Regions from separate parts of the Homo sapiens genome. Here all the other regions are linked to region 1. The links are contacts of gene promoters, found by promoter capture Hi-C in human tissues and cell types (Jung and others, 2019). All regions are on one chromosome and are shown on one strand. The core of a region is centred on a gene start or on the middle of the fragment in contact, and the rest is flanking DNA. Distances in the headings are between cores, read along the strand shown. Region 1 holds the start of PLCXD3 (phosphatidylinositol specific phospholipase C X domain containing 3). Region 2 has its middle 44 kb from the start of PLCXD3. Region 3 overlaps PLCXD3 (phosphatidylinositol specific phospholipase C X domain containing 3).

Region 1 (4,282 bases), core at 1,476-3,975:
TTAACATTTATAATCATTTAACTTTGAGTAAAGTGCATTACCTGTTATAATGTGGGTAGGCCTTATTAAATCAGTTGAAGGCCTTAAGAACAAAGACTAAAGCTATCTGAAGCAGCAGCAATTCTGCCTCAAAACTGCAGCATAGAAGTCCTTCCTGAGTTCCTGGCCTGCTGGCCTGCTCTGCAGATTTTGAACTCAAGACTGCAAGAACAATTCTTATCTCATGTTCCAGGCTTCCAGTTTGCCCTACATATATTGAACTTGCCAGCTCTCACAATCATATGAGACAATTTCTCTAAAATAAATCTCTTTCTCTCTATATATATACTACTGGTTCTGTTTCTCTGGAGAACCTTGATTAATCCAGTGACAAAATTAAAGCCCAGAGAAATTACATGATTGTCCCAATGTGTTTTAGTAAGTGGTAGCAGGGTTGGTGATAGAAAGATGGAGAAACTGGGTCATATAATTGCCCAAAATATTGATTATAAGGCTGGGAAAGAAATTCACAACTATCAACTTTCAGGCCTATCTTTTTTCATGGGTTGCATGTAGAAAATGATAATAACTTATATTAAACCAAGACATTTAAAATCCTGAAATGCAAATCAGATGAAACAGAGAAGGGACTGTTAGTTTGTTTTGCCAAAAGATAGTATGATTCTTTATAGAGGGGAACTTTCCTCACCAGTTAAGGTGGTTTCATTTTGTAAAAAATGCTTTGTAAATTTTTAGGGCCACATAAGCTCAATATACTTTAACAGGGCATGTTTCTAAAATGTGTCTTATTAAAAATGTACCCCAGATTCAATAATTATTTCATGCTTTTGAAAAAAATACTTCATAAGTATAGAAAAGACAAAGAGTGGTAAATACACATATCCTGTTATCTTAAACATGTATGCACTCTCTTCTGGAAGCTTCACCACAAATCTCTGAGTTCTTATTACCACTTTATAATGGAGAAAACTGGGGCTAGCAGAGACTAGAGGACTTGCCCAAACTACTCAGAGACAGAGCAGCTGACCACTAGATTTGAATTTTCCTCATTGCCTTGCAATCATGCCCTGAGACCACCAGCATTAGGTGGTGTTTGTAGGTTTCTTACAGAAGGGTGGTGTTTGTAGATCTCTTGACCAAGAGTCCTATAGTAAGCTAAACTATCATCCTAATTAAAAGGATATGTGGGTTCTATTGTACTAGCATGTATATTAAGATTTATTTGGGGAAAATTTTCAGTATATCTCTTCCTCATCACTAAAGATAACTGTACCATGTCCTCTTGAAGGTATGAATTTATTTTACAAGGGGCATGGAAAATTTGATAACCAAAATAAGGCGTTGCCTCTCCTCTATCTTTCCCATAGTGCTCCCCATTTGGGGGTGAATATTCTTAGGACTTAGCATCATTGTAGAAAATAAGGTAGGCTCTAGGTTTTTTCTTATTTTTTAATGCTATTTGGGATTAAATGGATTTACTAACCTTGAATAATTATTCTCATGTTTCATGGCTCTCTTTGTCTCCTATGTTGATTGTCATTTCCGCAATCTAATAGCATTTCCCATAGAAAAATAAAAATTTACACAACCCTGGCATGAAAGAACAGAGGTCTGTTTATTGCATTTCCATTTCCTGGGTTGCAAAAGCCCAGCACACTTTCAGTTCATCTCTTATAATTCCTATTCAGGCCACTGCTGCTCTCATTACATTTGTAAAACTTCATCTCTCTCCTTTTACTCATCTGAGAGCAGGTGGACCCAGACAGTTCTTTGGAGGCCCAGTGAGTGATTTCTCTTGAGAGAGGCACATCTTTCCAGTCTGCAAAGGAATGAAAATGCAGACAGTCACATAGATCACTTTGAATGGTGCCAAATACATTCCACCAAATGCTACTGGCAATAATTAGAGCATGTCACTGGGAGATGTGGCGATTTTCTTCCAGCATAAGGCTCCAGTCTTACCCTGAGTGCCATGAAACTGACAGGACAGAGGCAGTGTTCTCCATGGAAATAATGTAGACTTCTCATGATCTGAGAAAAGAAGGGGGAGTAGCATTTCTTGACTTTGAAATGTCTGGAGCAAGGTACCCAGGATTAAGTAGGAACCACCTAGAATTTACCATGCCCTTCACTGACTCATACTTACCAGCTATTTCACAAAGTAGGCAAAAGAGTGAATAAAGATAATCATTTTTTAATAAACAGGGTTGTGGTCTCTGGCTGAGGAAAGGTATAACCTGTTGTAGATTACAAAAAGGAAAGCTCTTTGATAAGGACGGAAAGCCCTGAAACCCAGCATGAGAAGTCTGTTCCTCAGGAGGCAATAACATCCCAAAGTCTGCTAGGATTTTAGGTTCAAGTGCAAGACTGTCTTTCATACAAACAGGACGAGAAAGTCACAGCAAAGGATCGAGCAAGCCATGGGCAAAGCAGTTGGAAAAAAATGAATAGAAAAGAAAAATAAGAAACCAGGGAAAGCTGCAGAATGGCGAGGAAAGGCAGAGACGCCTAGGAAGGATAAGACGGGAGGAGGGGGTTGGGGAGGGAGGGGAGAGCGGAGAGAGCTGAGCACGGACGTCAGGAACAAAAGCTCCAGCGGAGTCTGGCGGAGGCACTAAGGGAGCACGGGGTGTTTTGAATAATTATTAAAATTAGCATGTGTCTGCGCCATCCTGTGGGTGTGGCGCAGAGAGGAGTGTAAACTCTAGCGGGGCTAGAGCAAACATTGGATTAGCGGCAGCAGCCTGCCAGCCTGCCCGAGGAGTGCTGGGACCAGCGCGCTGCACGCCGACTGGCACGATGGCCTCGTCTCAGGGGAAAAACGAGCTGAAATTAGCCGACTGGATGGCAACTCTGCCGGAGAGCATGCACAGCATCCCCCTCACCAATTTAGCCATTCCAGGTAGGCGCGCAGGGGCTGCGGGCTAGGCGCTCGGCGCCCGCTCCACCTGCCCCGCCCTGCTTTATCTGCCACTAAGTGGTAACTTGCCACGATGCCCGCGGGAGGGAAACTCGTCTTCCAGGGTGGGTCTCAGGCCAGGCGAGCGCGTGCCGGGTAGCCTTGGGCTTCCTGGCGTTTTCCAAACCCCTAAGGACCGAGGCGCTAGAGTCAAGGTGACTGCTTTTCTCCTGGGCTTTTGAAGCAGGTTGTATGCGGAGGACTGGGGCAGAGGAGAAGCTGGGCTCCAGGATGGTGCCTCGTGACCCCCTCCTATGGTTTCTCCTGCAGATTTGGGGAAGTGGGAGAAATCTCTGGGTCTGCGGGGTGACCGTGTGTGAAGAACGCGAGCTAGTGTCAGGGGCTCGCCTTCGGTGCAAGGACCTGAGTCTATCCCTGGCATGGAATTGGGCGGATTTGATAGATTCTCGGCTACAGTCATTAATATTCGTCCCCAATCTCCTTTAAAAAGACAAAGCGCTTCCCGAAGAGTGATGAAAGTTCAGGGACCAGAGGCGGCGTGATAGCTGCCCTTGAAAAGGAGCCCAAGGGGGCGACGGGCAGAGGGCACCATTTCGTATCGGTTTGGACCCCGGGGGACCTGGCCGAGTGGCCGCTGTCTCGAGTCTGGTCCAAGTGCGTGTTGGCAACACACTTCGCCCAGGTCAAAAAAGCAAACCCTTGCGGACCGTATGTTTACTGCTCGGGACAGAAGCTGGGCAGGGGAACCTGCGTGACCTGAGCGGAGGGGTGGGATTAATAGGCAAATAGTACGGAAAAGGTGACTGAGAATGTGTCCAGACAGTCTAGAAGGAAAGAAGCGTGGACAAAGCGAGGAAGAGACCTGAGGGATCAAGAAGCTTCAGCTTGATGTGTGCGACTTGGACCAGAGACTGGGCAGGTTTCTAGGGTGGCAGCTCCTAACAACCCCCTAGATCAGGTATCCAGGAGTGAGGGTCGTTTCAGGACAGTTTACAACAATGACAGCTGGGACACGGCCATACTTTATTGTCAATTTGGCTATGCAGTTGGGCTGGGGGAGCACACACTTGATCTTTTCAGAGCTGGGCTGGAGGGCAAATTACTCATGAACAGTTCACTTCTGGCCCTGAGCTGAGCTGGGCTATTAAACTCAACGTTATGGTCTACCTCCTCTTGATCTGCCCCATCCAGCGCCCCCTCTCAGCTGTTGGAGGAAAACATAATAAAGAAAAAAACAACAAAAACAAAAACAAAAGAAGGGTTATTTTGAAAATCACTAGATGCTCCAACCAAGAGTGCTGCCATTGATCAGTCCCTCAAATCAATGGTTGTTAGTCAAGTGGATGTTTGGCAGCAATGGCA
Region 2 (4,583 bases), core at 234-2,733, 45 kb before region 1:
TTTGCAAACCATACATCTGATAAATGGTTAATATTCAAAACAGATAATTCAAACAACTCAATAGTAAGAAAACAAATAACCCAATTAAAAAATGGGTAAAGAAACTGAACAGACATTTCTCAAAGGAAAGCATACAAATGGTATAGCAGGTACATGAAAAAAATGCTCAGCACCACCAATTATCAAAGCAATGCAGCAATAAGATCTGAACTCACACCTGTTAGTATGGCCTTTATCAAAAAGACAAAAGAAAAGTGTTGAGAAGAATGAAGAGAAAAGGGAACTATGGTACATTGTTAGTGGGAATGTAAATGAGTACAGCCATTATGGAAAACAGTACGCAGGTTTCTCCAAAAATTAAAAATCAAGTTGCCATATGATCCAGTAATCCTACTTGTGAATACATATCCATGGCAACTGAAATTAATATATTAAAAGGATATCTGCTCTTCCATGTCCATTGCAGCATCTATCAGTGATAAATGAATAAAGAAAATGTGGTACATATACACAATGTACTAAGCCTTTAAAAAGAAGAAATTCCTGTCATTTTGTAGACAACATTAATGACCTGGAAGACATTAGGCTAAGTGAAACAAACCAGGCACAGAAAGACAAATGCTGAATGATCTCACTCATGTGAAATATTAAAAAGTTGAATTCACAGAAGTAGAAAATAGAATAATGGTTACCAGAGGCTGGGAGGAGGGGCAATAGGGAGGGAGGGGATAGGGAGTGGCTGATCAAAGGATACAAAGTCTCAGATGGACAGGAAAAATAAGCTTTGGGAACTATTGCATGGCAGGATGACTATCGTGTAATAATGTATATTTTGAAACAATGAAAAGGCCAGGCACGGTGGCTCACGCCTGTAATCCCAGCACTTTGGGAGGCCGAGGCTGGCGGATCAGGAGGGCAGGAGATTGAGACCATCCTGGCTAACACAGTGAAAGCCCGTCTCTACTAAAAATACAAAAAATTAGCCGGGCGTGGTGGTGGGCCCCTGCAGTCCCAGCTACTCGGGAGGCTGAGGCAGGAGAATGGCGTGAACCCGGGAGGCGGAGCTTGCAGTGAGCCGAGATTGCACCACTGCTCCACTGCACTCCAGCCTGGGCGACAGAGCAAGACTCTGTCTCAAAAAAACAAACTAACAAACACAATGAAAAAAATAAATTTCAAATGTCTCACCATAAAAAATGATAGGTAAGCAAAGTGATAGATATGTTAACTGGCTTCATTGAATCATTACACAGTGTATACATATAGCAAAATATCAAATAGTATCCCATTAAATATATTCAATTTTAATGTTTCAATTAGAAATAATGTTAATTTAAGAAATCCAAGTCTTTGGTGTATTACTATCCTCATTTTATAAATAAAAAACTGAGGATCCCAGAAGCTTAGTTATTTGCTCTGAGACACAGAGTTAGTGAGTGACAGCTTGGATTCTAAATAGCTGCCTGACTGAAATTTGTGGCCATTCCATTATATCAGGTTACCTTTCTTTCAGAGCCTCTATAAAGATTTTAAGATCTTAAGAAGATTTGATAGCAATTTGCCTGGAGGCAGAAGACCACTGAAGCTTCTCGTACAGGTATAAGCTGATGCTCCAGTGTTATGGAGATATTAGCAATTATAATATTGGCAGCCAAATATTGAGTAGGGCACAAAAAAGTGGTTCAGAAATCAAGAGACTTCGATTCTACCCTTATCTCTGTGTAAGACCGTGAGCGAGTCATTAACCAGTTTGCTCTCCTATTTCTCTATAAAATGATCAGTGAACTTTTTACAGACTGACTCCATGACCAATTTAAAAGAGAAGGAAAAACCTTCTATTAAGCTGTGAAGTGGAAAAATTAACTAAGATCTGTATAATATTTTGCATTTTTTCAAAGTCACTTAAAGCTTCATAACTTCTCTTAACAACCCAGAAATGTATTCTAGAGGAGATGTTTATCCATACTGAATGACTTTCTTGTCTCCTTGGTATGAGAATGGAGATTGAATGGAGAGAAAAGGAGCAGAAGCCAGTGGTTGAAAATGCTTCAGGACTCCAACCTTGGTTCTAGATCATCATCCCGGGAAAGAAACAATGACAGTATGGAGGGAACCCTGCTAATCCACTGAAGTTTTTTTTTCTGGGGTCAGTGCTTGAATTTCAGCTTCACCTCACAGTCCTACACACATATACTTTTAGCCCTATTTCCTGGAAGAATGAGGAATGTGATCATCAGTGCTATGCATTCCCTGCAGAACAGTTAATCTTGCTGAAGAGTATGTGTTGGTAAACACATCTCCTTTTGTTGAGAAAGCTGCTGCTCCTTGAGCCCAGGCAAAGTTGGATAGAACACCCTACACTCAGTCCCAAACTAAGAACATGTCCCTCATCAGGTTTTTTCCAGGTGTTTCATGGGCCCTTCTCTGCCAGACACCATGGCAGTCTTCTGCCTTGGAATGGATGAAGGTGGGCTTTATACCATCACTCACTGTGAAACCAGACTTCCTCCCTCCTCTATGAGTACGTGGGCTTATCTGCTTCTGTCTTCTGGCTAGTTATCTTATCTATAGCTTCTTATTCTAATAAGGTATACATATAGCAATGGAAGAATGGCCTTCATTGCAGTAGGCCATCCTTGCATTGCTATAAAGGGATAACTGAGACTGGGTAATTTATAAACAAAGGAGGTTTAATTGGCTCATGCTTCTGCAGGCCATACAAGCATGGCACTGGCATCTGCTCAGCTTCTAAGGAGGCCTCTGGGAGCTTTTACTCATATCATAAGGTGAACCGGGAGCAGGCTTATCACAGGGCCAGAACAGAAGCAAAAGAGAGAGAGAATGGTAGGTGTCACACACTTTTGAATGACCAGATCTTGCATGAACTCACTCATCACCAAGGGGATGGTGCTAAGCCATTCATGAGAGTTCTTCCCCCCGATCCAAACAACTCCCAACAGGCCCCACCTCTAATTCTGGGGATTACAATTCAACGTCAGATTTGGTGGGGACATATATTCAGGATATATCATTCATGTTAGGTTTGTTAATTTGGTTTCTCACCCTTTGGGGTTCCTTTTAATATATAGTTCTACAAACTGCCAAACTATACAATAAATACCTTTTTATTAAATAAATGAATAGAAGCCAAATTTGCATCATGAGAAAATACTATAATTATTCATCCTTTCTACTGGAATATTTTCTCTTTTTAAATAAATTTTTATTTTTATAATTTTTTAACGGTACCAGACATTTAATAGCCACTCCCCCTGCATCCCCACATATTCTCTGTACTCTAAAAAAATCAACCATTTAAATTTTCTGCTGATTTTATTTTCCTTCCAACTTCTTTTTTAACTTTAATTTCAGGTCTAGGGGTACATGTGCAGGTTTATTATATACTAAACTTGTGTCACAGGTGTTCGTTGCACAGATTATTTTGTCACCTAGTACCTAATAGTTATTTTTTCTGATCCTTTCCCTCCTCCCACCCTCCACTTTCAGGTAGGCCCATCTGTGGTTCCCCTTTTTGTGTCCATGTGGTTCAAGGGTACATGTGCAGGTTTGTTATATAGTAAACTTGTGTCACAGGCATTCGTTGCACAGATTATTTTGTCACCTACTACCTAATAGTTATTTTTTCTGATCCTTTCCCTCCTCCCACCCTTCATCTTCAGGTAGGCCCATCTGTTATTCCCCTCTTTGTGTCCATGTGTTCTTATCATTTAGCTCCTACTTATAAGTGAGAACATGTGATATCTGGTTTTCTATTCCTGAATTAGTTTGCTAAGGATAATGGCCTCCAACTCCTTCCATGTCCTCACAAAGGGCATGATCTCATTCTTTTTTGTAACTGCATAGTATTCTATGGTACATATGTACCAGTTTCATTTTCCAGTCTGCCATTGATAGGCGTTTAGGTTGATTCCATTTGTTTGCTATTGTGAATAGTGTTTCAATGAACATACGTGTGCATATGTCTTTATGGTAGAATGATTTATATTCTTTTGGGTATATGCCCAGTAAAGGGATTACTGGCTCAAATGATACCTCTGTTTTTAGCTTTTTGAAGAATCATCACGTTGCTTTCCACAATGGTTGAACTAGCCACAAGCAGTGTATAAGCATTCCTTTTCCTTCACAACCTCGCCAGGATTTGTTTTATATATAGATATATAATATATACATATATTTACTTTATATATATATATATTTACTTTTTAATAATAGCGATTCTGAGTAGTGTGAGATGGTATCTCATTGTGATTTTGATTTGCATGTCTCTAATGATTAGTGGTATTGAGCTTTTCTTGTATGTATGTCTTCTTTTGAAAAGTGTCTATTCATGTCCTATGCCCACTTTTTAAAGAGACTGTTTTTATCTGTAAATTTAAGTTCCTTATAGATGCTAGATACTAAACCTTTGTCAGATATATAGTTTGCAAATATTTCCTCCCATTCTGTATGTTGTATGTTTCCTCTGTTGATAGTTTATTTTGCAATGCAGATGCTTTTTAGTTTAATTAGATCCCATTTATCAATTTTTGCTTTTGGTGTCCTCGGCATGAAATCTTTGCCTG
Region 3 (4,477 bases), core at 909-3,408, 60 kb after region 1:
TTTGGAGTCTAAGGTATGCCTACTTAACAGCACGCACATAGGTCTCTGGTACCAAGTTGCACCTGCTCTGAGGGATCATTGACTGTTCATTTTAGGGGCTTCCCTGGATGAAAGCCTTATAGTCTCTGCTTATAAAGTTTAGATCACTTCAAACATTCCTTTTGAAACATTCCTTCAAAATTTGTGAAAATCTAACTAGTATTCCTTTATGTATACAGATTTTTCTTGAATCAGTTCCCCTTTGCCATTCCTTAGTATTCAGTAAGGTTCTGCACATTTGAAATCCTGATGGTATAGGACTAAGGAGAATGAAAAGAAGATGGTCTGATCCAAACTTATACAAGCAATTTAAGAGCAGACAACATCAGCTAAATTTGAAAGGTGAGGATAGCAAAGAAGGAGCAAATTTGGGAGACAGAATCAGGGCTGTTCAGTCTGCTTTCACCATGAAGCTCCTCCTTCTGGCACCAATACCTTGGGGTCCTTGATTTTATTTCAGTAAGGAAAGCAATCCCTTGAGCAGAAAACAAGACTTAGCTGAAAGTATGGCAATCAAGATACCTGTTTCTCAACATGCACACAAAATTCCCCTCATTTGAGAATTGGGTAAATATTACACTCCAAGGGTCAAGTAGGCCTTGGGAAGCCTCCAATCCAACAAGAAGATGATATTTTCTCTTACTGCTCAGTGAATCAGCTGATTATATTGTTTAAAGAAAATTGCTCTCTGAAGGCTAGCAAAAAAGTGACAAATGTGAAGAAAGGAAGAACCTCATGGAGAGCTAGTTCTTAGGGTCCAGTTTCCCTTCAATGTCTTTCAGTAGGTGAGTTCATCATGTTCTTTGCTGAGACCAAGGATTAGGGGTGGACATCCAACATAAAAAAAAAAAAGAGAGAGGAAAGATCTCAGATCTACCAGACAAAATAATCACTCTATTTCTCTTTGGGGCTGCTTTTAAATATTCTTGAAAAGTCAATGCTTTTCCTCTCTGCATATACATTTAGGCATAACACTTTTGTTACCACAGTCATCTATACCCATCTTTTCTGCTAGAGTGTTGCCTTGTTGACATCAGCAACAGCTTTGTGTTCACTTTTGCAATCAGAGGCACTTAAATGTCTATCGAGTTGAATTGTAAATAGAATCCCATCTCCCTCCTCAAGCAGAGATCTTTTAAAATATTCCTCAAATACCATCTTATGACAAATATTCCAAACATTCCTGGTAGCAGGAAATTCACTGGCTTATAAAACATTCTACTTTTGTACTTCAGGAGTCAAAAAAGAAAAGACAAATTTACTTGTCCATTTCTGCTTTTGACTAAGATGTCTCAGGTTACGTTGAGGTGTATGAAGCCCTTGAACCTTTGGTATTTTTTGAAGAGTCCACTCTAGAGTAAAAATTGTTCAATATGTACCAAAAGAACATTGTTTTCCCAGAATCCATTTATTTCCTCTGACACATACACCAGGGGAAACTGCTCCTGGCTTGGAGAACTCCTCCAAACCAGAGATGAAGATACAGCATGACACTCCAGTGTCTTCTCAGTTAGGCATAGAGATAGCAGGAAGCTCAACCTCCAACTTTGATAATCAGCCTCCTATTCCTCTTCCTCCTTTTTTTCTGCTTCCATTATTCCCATTATCTGTGCTGCAATCCATCTCCTTCTTTTCCCCTTTCCTACTTCTCTTTTGTCCATCTCTGCGTATAGAATCCCTTGAATGTAGAGGAGAGAATGGGGTTGTGTGACCCCTCACTATATACATCATGGAGAAGGACCTGCAGGTGGTATCTGAGGCAGCCCGGGGACTTAGGAGACCTGCATTTAGAAAATGTGTCACTGATAAGAAACTTCCACAGACAGTCTTAACAAGTAAAGTGTTCTTGGGAAGATGAGAGTGAAATTGGAAAAGAGTAAGCTTGCCTCTTTCTTTACTACTAGAGAGACCTAAATTCAGGTGTACTTGGAGGAAACTTTCAAGCTGCTTCTATCAGCATTGTAAGTTTTGTAAAGTATTTGTAAACTGTAAGCAGCTCTGACAGCCACATTTCCCAGGCACTACTGGGAAACTTCATCCTTAAACTATTGATGAATAGAACATTAAATTTTAATTCTCTGTCAATTGAAACTTGCTAATTAAAATCCATGTCCTTTATCTTGGAGACCTTTGAAAAACAGAGCAGAGAAGCTTGTTTAGAGATAAAATAACTATCACCTGGCTGGAAGCTTTTGTGTCTAAGATGCTGTGAATGTTAGTTTCCTATCAATTCAGACTTGCAAGAAAATCAGCAGGTTTTCCACTCTTCTTGTATCAGTCTTTATACAGCACCCTCCCAGTTCTGTTCTTCCTTCTTACTTTCACCAGGCTCCTCATGATCTTGTTTCTGGTGAAATCAAGCCAAAACCAAGGGCAGCTTTGAAGATAGAACAAGGAATAGAGCTTCATAGGACAGAATCACTTTTTCTTTCAGTTTGTTTCCAGTGTGTAGATGTATTTACTGTATTGCTGTTCTCTTGTGTACTACTCCAGAGAAAGCCATTGATGTCTTCTTTAGCATTAAAATTATAATGGTATTCAGTATACCTCCCCATCTACCTGTTAGGGGAGGTAATAGGTGGTGTCTTCAATATTTATGCTTTAAGATATAGCAGACACTATTAGTGTACTGCTTATATGCCCTTCCTCGCCCCCCATTCCTATGCCCACCAATGGCTTTTTAATGCAAGGTCCTGTGGTTGGAGAGTAAGGGCAGAAAAGGGCCTTAACCAGTAACAGGAAATTGGTAGATGAATATCCCAGTCTCCTCAATCTCCAGGTGAGATAACTCTGAGGCACTCCTATAGTATGTCCTAGGTATTCCCAGTAGGATGGAACCCCACTTCTCACAATGTTATTCTGCTTATCAGTGTACTTTACACTGGCTTTTTCCCTTCCCTATCTCACTGCCCACCTCCTCTATGGTCCTTTTATGATCACCTTTCAAATAAACTACTTGCACTAAAATCTTAGTCTCATAGTCTGCTTTTGGGCAATAAAAATTAAGCTACACACAGAGAGAATGCATTTCAATTTTTGAATGTGAAAATCTATGGTGTCACCGAAAATGGTAGAAAAGTCTGTATAGTTTAGAAAATTAGAAAGTTATTATGAAATTTGACCACTGACTATGCTCTAAGCTATACTTTACAATTTCAGCTTTACATTCTCAGCAAAATCAATCTTGTTTAGTCATTCATTAAAATTTTTTTCTGAGCTTTGGTATAAAATGCATTAATGCAAATTGCTATGAGGATATCAGTGAGTGTAATATCTTTTTCTATTTGAAAGAATATTAGATTGTACTTTTGAGGAGAATGAGAACATTCATTACAAAGTTAAATGATAATAGATAAAATAATATACAGAAATGCCAAGGAGTAAATGGTGAAATGTAATGTGAAAATAGAGACTATATATATCGTAGGAGTCCAGTGAAGTCATGGATATAGAAAGTTTTCTGGAAAAATCATGGGCAAGGAACCATAGTGTGGGTACAGAAAGTTTTGCAGGTGCAGAAAGGGAAAGGTGTGCATGTTTAGCATTTGGGTCTGACTGAAATGGAAGATTCTTTTAGGGGAGAAGAGAAGTTAAAAATGTGTATGTACATGTATTGGACCAAGGTTAAGAAGATTATAAATGTCATACTAAGAAGTTTGGGAAGTGAGTATTATCTTTCTTTGTTGTTGGGTTTTAAACACAGTAATAGCATTCATTTATTTCACTCATCCATTCATTAACTATACTGAGCTTCTCCTCTATTTAAAGGCATACATTAGATTTTGTTACTTGGTGAAAAAAGAGGTAGGGAAAGAAGAAAAGGATGACTCAAAACTTGTATGATTGAGAAGTTAGGAAAGTTAGAAAGGAGAATTGAGTTGTTCCGTTTTAGATAAATTATGTATTTATTTATTTGCTAACTTTTCCAAAAAGAGTTAAGGCAGGCTACATGCAACCAGTATGCTAGTTCTATATGATTTTACAATACAAGAGGTATTTTGTAAGATTTATTTTGCTCTCTAATTCTATCAATTTTCTTAGTTACTTTTGGAAAACCTAATTGGCACCAATTTCCGAGGCATTTTTCAGATGATTGCCATATTGGCTAGATGCCAGTTTGGGATGTGGGAAGAAAGATGGCTTCAGCCCAAGTAAATCTGCCTTGAGCTTGGCCTCAGACATCTCCTATTCAAGAGCAGGTGGCTTTTTCATCCTTCTCAGCATGCTGAAGTCAACTGGGTTTCTGGTTTGTATCAACTCTGCAGGATCCAGGAATGATGGGAGAGGTGGGGTTCAGGTCCCAGTCAAGAGCATCTTGTCAGATGCATTGATTTCACAACACCTTCTATGTCTGTTTTGGTCCTAGAGATCAGGGAAAAATTATAGCCTATGTCTTAACTCTTTATGGTGTTTAAGAGCTGTTATGAGGCTTTCAGTT

What was found. Contacts are between HindIII fragments. The study calls those that stand out against the background at their distance.
Region 2: a contact is called between a fragment that was not itself captured here and the fragment with the promoter of PLCXD3 in region 1, in 3 of the 25 tissues and cell types used here (adrenal gland, dorsolateral prefrontal cortex and hippocampus).
Region 3: a fragment that was not itself captured here is called in contact with the fragment with the promoter of PLCXD3 in region 1 in 2 of the 25 tissues and cell types used here (heart right ventricle and pancreas).

The regions. Positions count from the first base shown.
Region 1 is chr5:41,509,044-41,513,325 of GRCh38, reverse strand. It overlaps PLCXD3 (phosphatidylinositol specific phospholipase C X domain containing 3), which reads left to right and starts at 2,725. Exons shown (of 3, transcript NM_001005473.3): 1 at 2,725-2,902. The coding sequence starts at 2,800. RefSeq lists an enhancer at 2,371-3,199. The HindIII fragment of the contact is 4,804 bases long and covers 1-4,282 here.
Region 2 is chr5:41,552,609-41,557,191 of GRCh38, reverse strand. No RefSeq gene overlaps it. Among named protein-coding and RNA genes, the nearest start is that of PLCXD3, 44 kb to the right of the region's middle. The HindIII fragment of the contact is 4,338 bases long and covers 1-3,652 here.
Region 3 is chr5:41,448,056-41,452,532 of GRCh38, reverse strand. The region is part of intron 1 of PLCXD3 (phosphatidylinositol specific phospholipase C X domain containing 3); the gene reads left to right. Among named protein-coding and RNA genes, the nearest start is that of PLCXD3, 60 kb to the left of the region's middle. The HindIII fragment of the contact is 3,578 bases long and covers 370-3,947 here.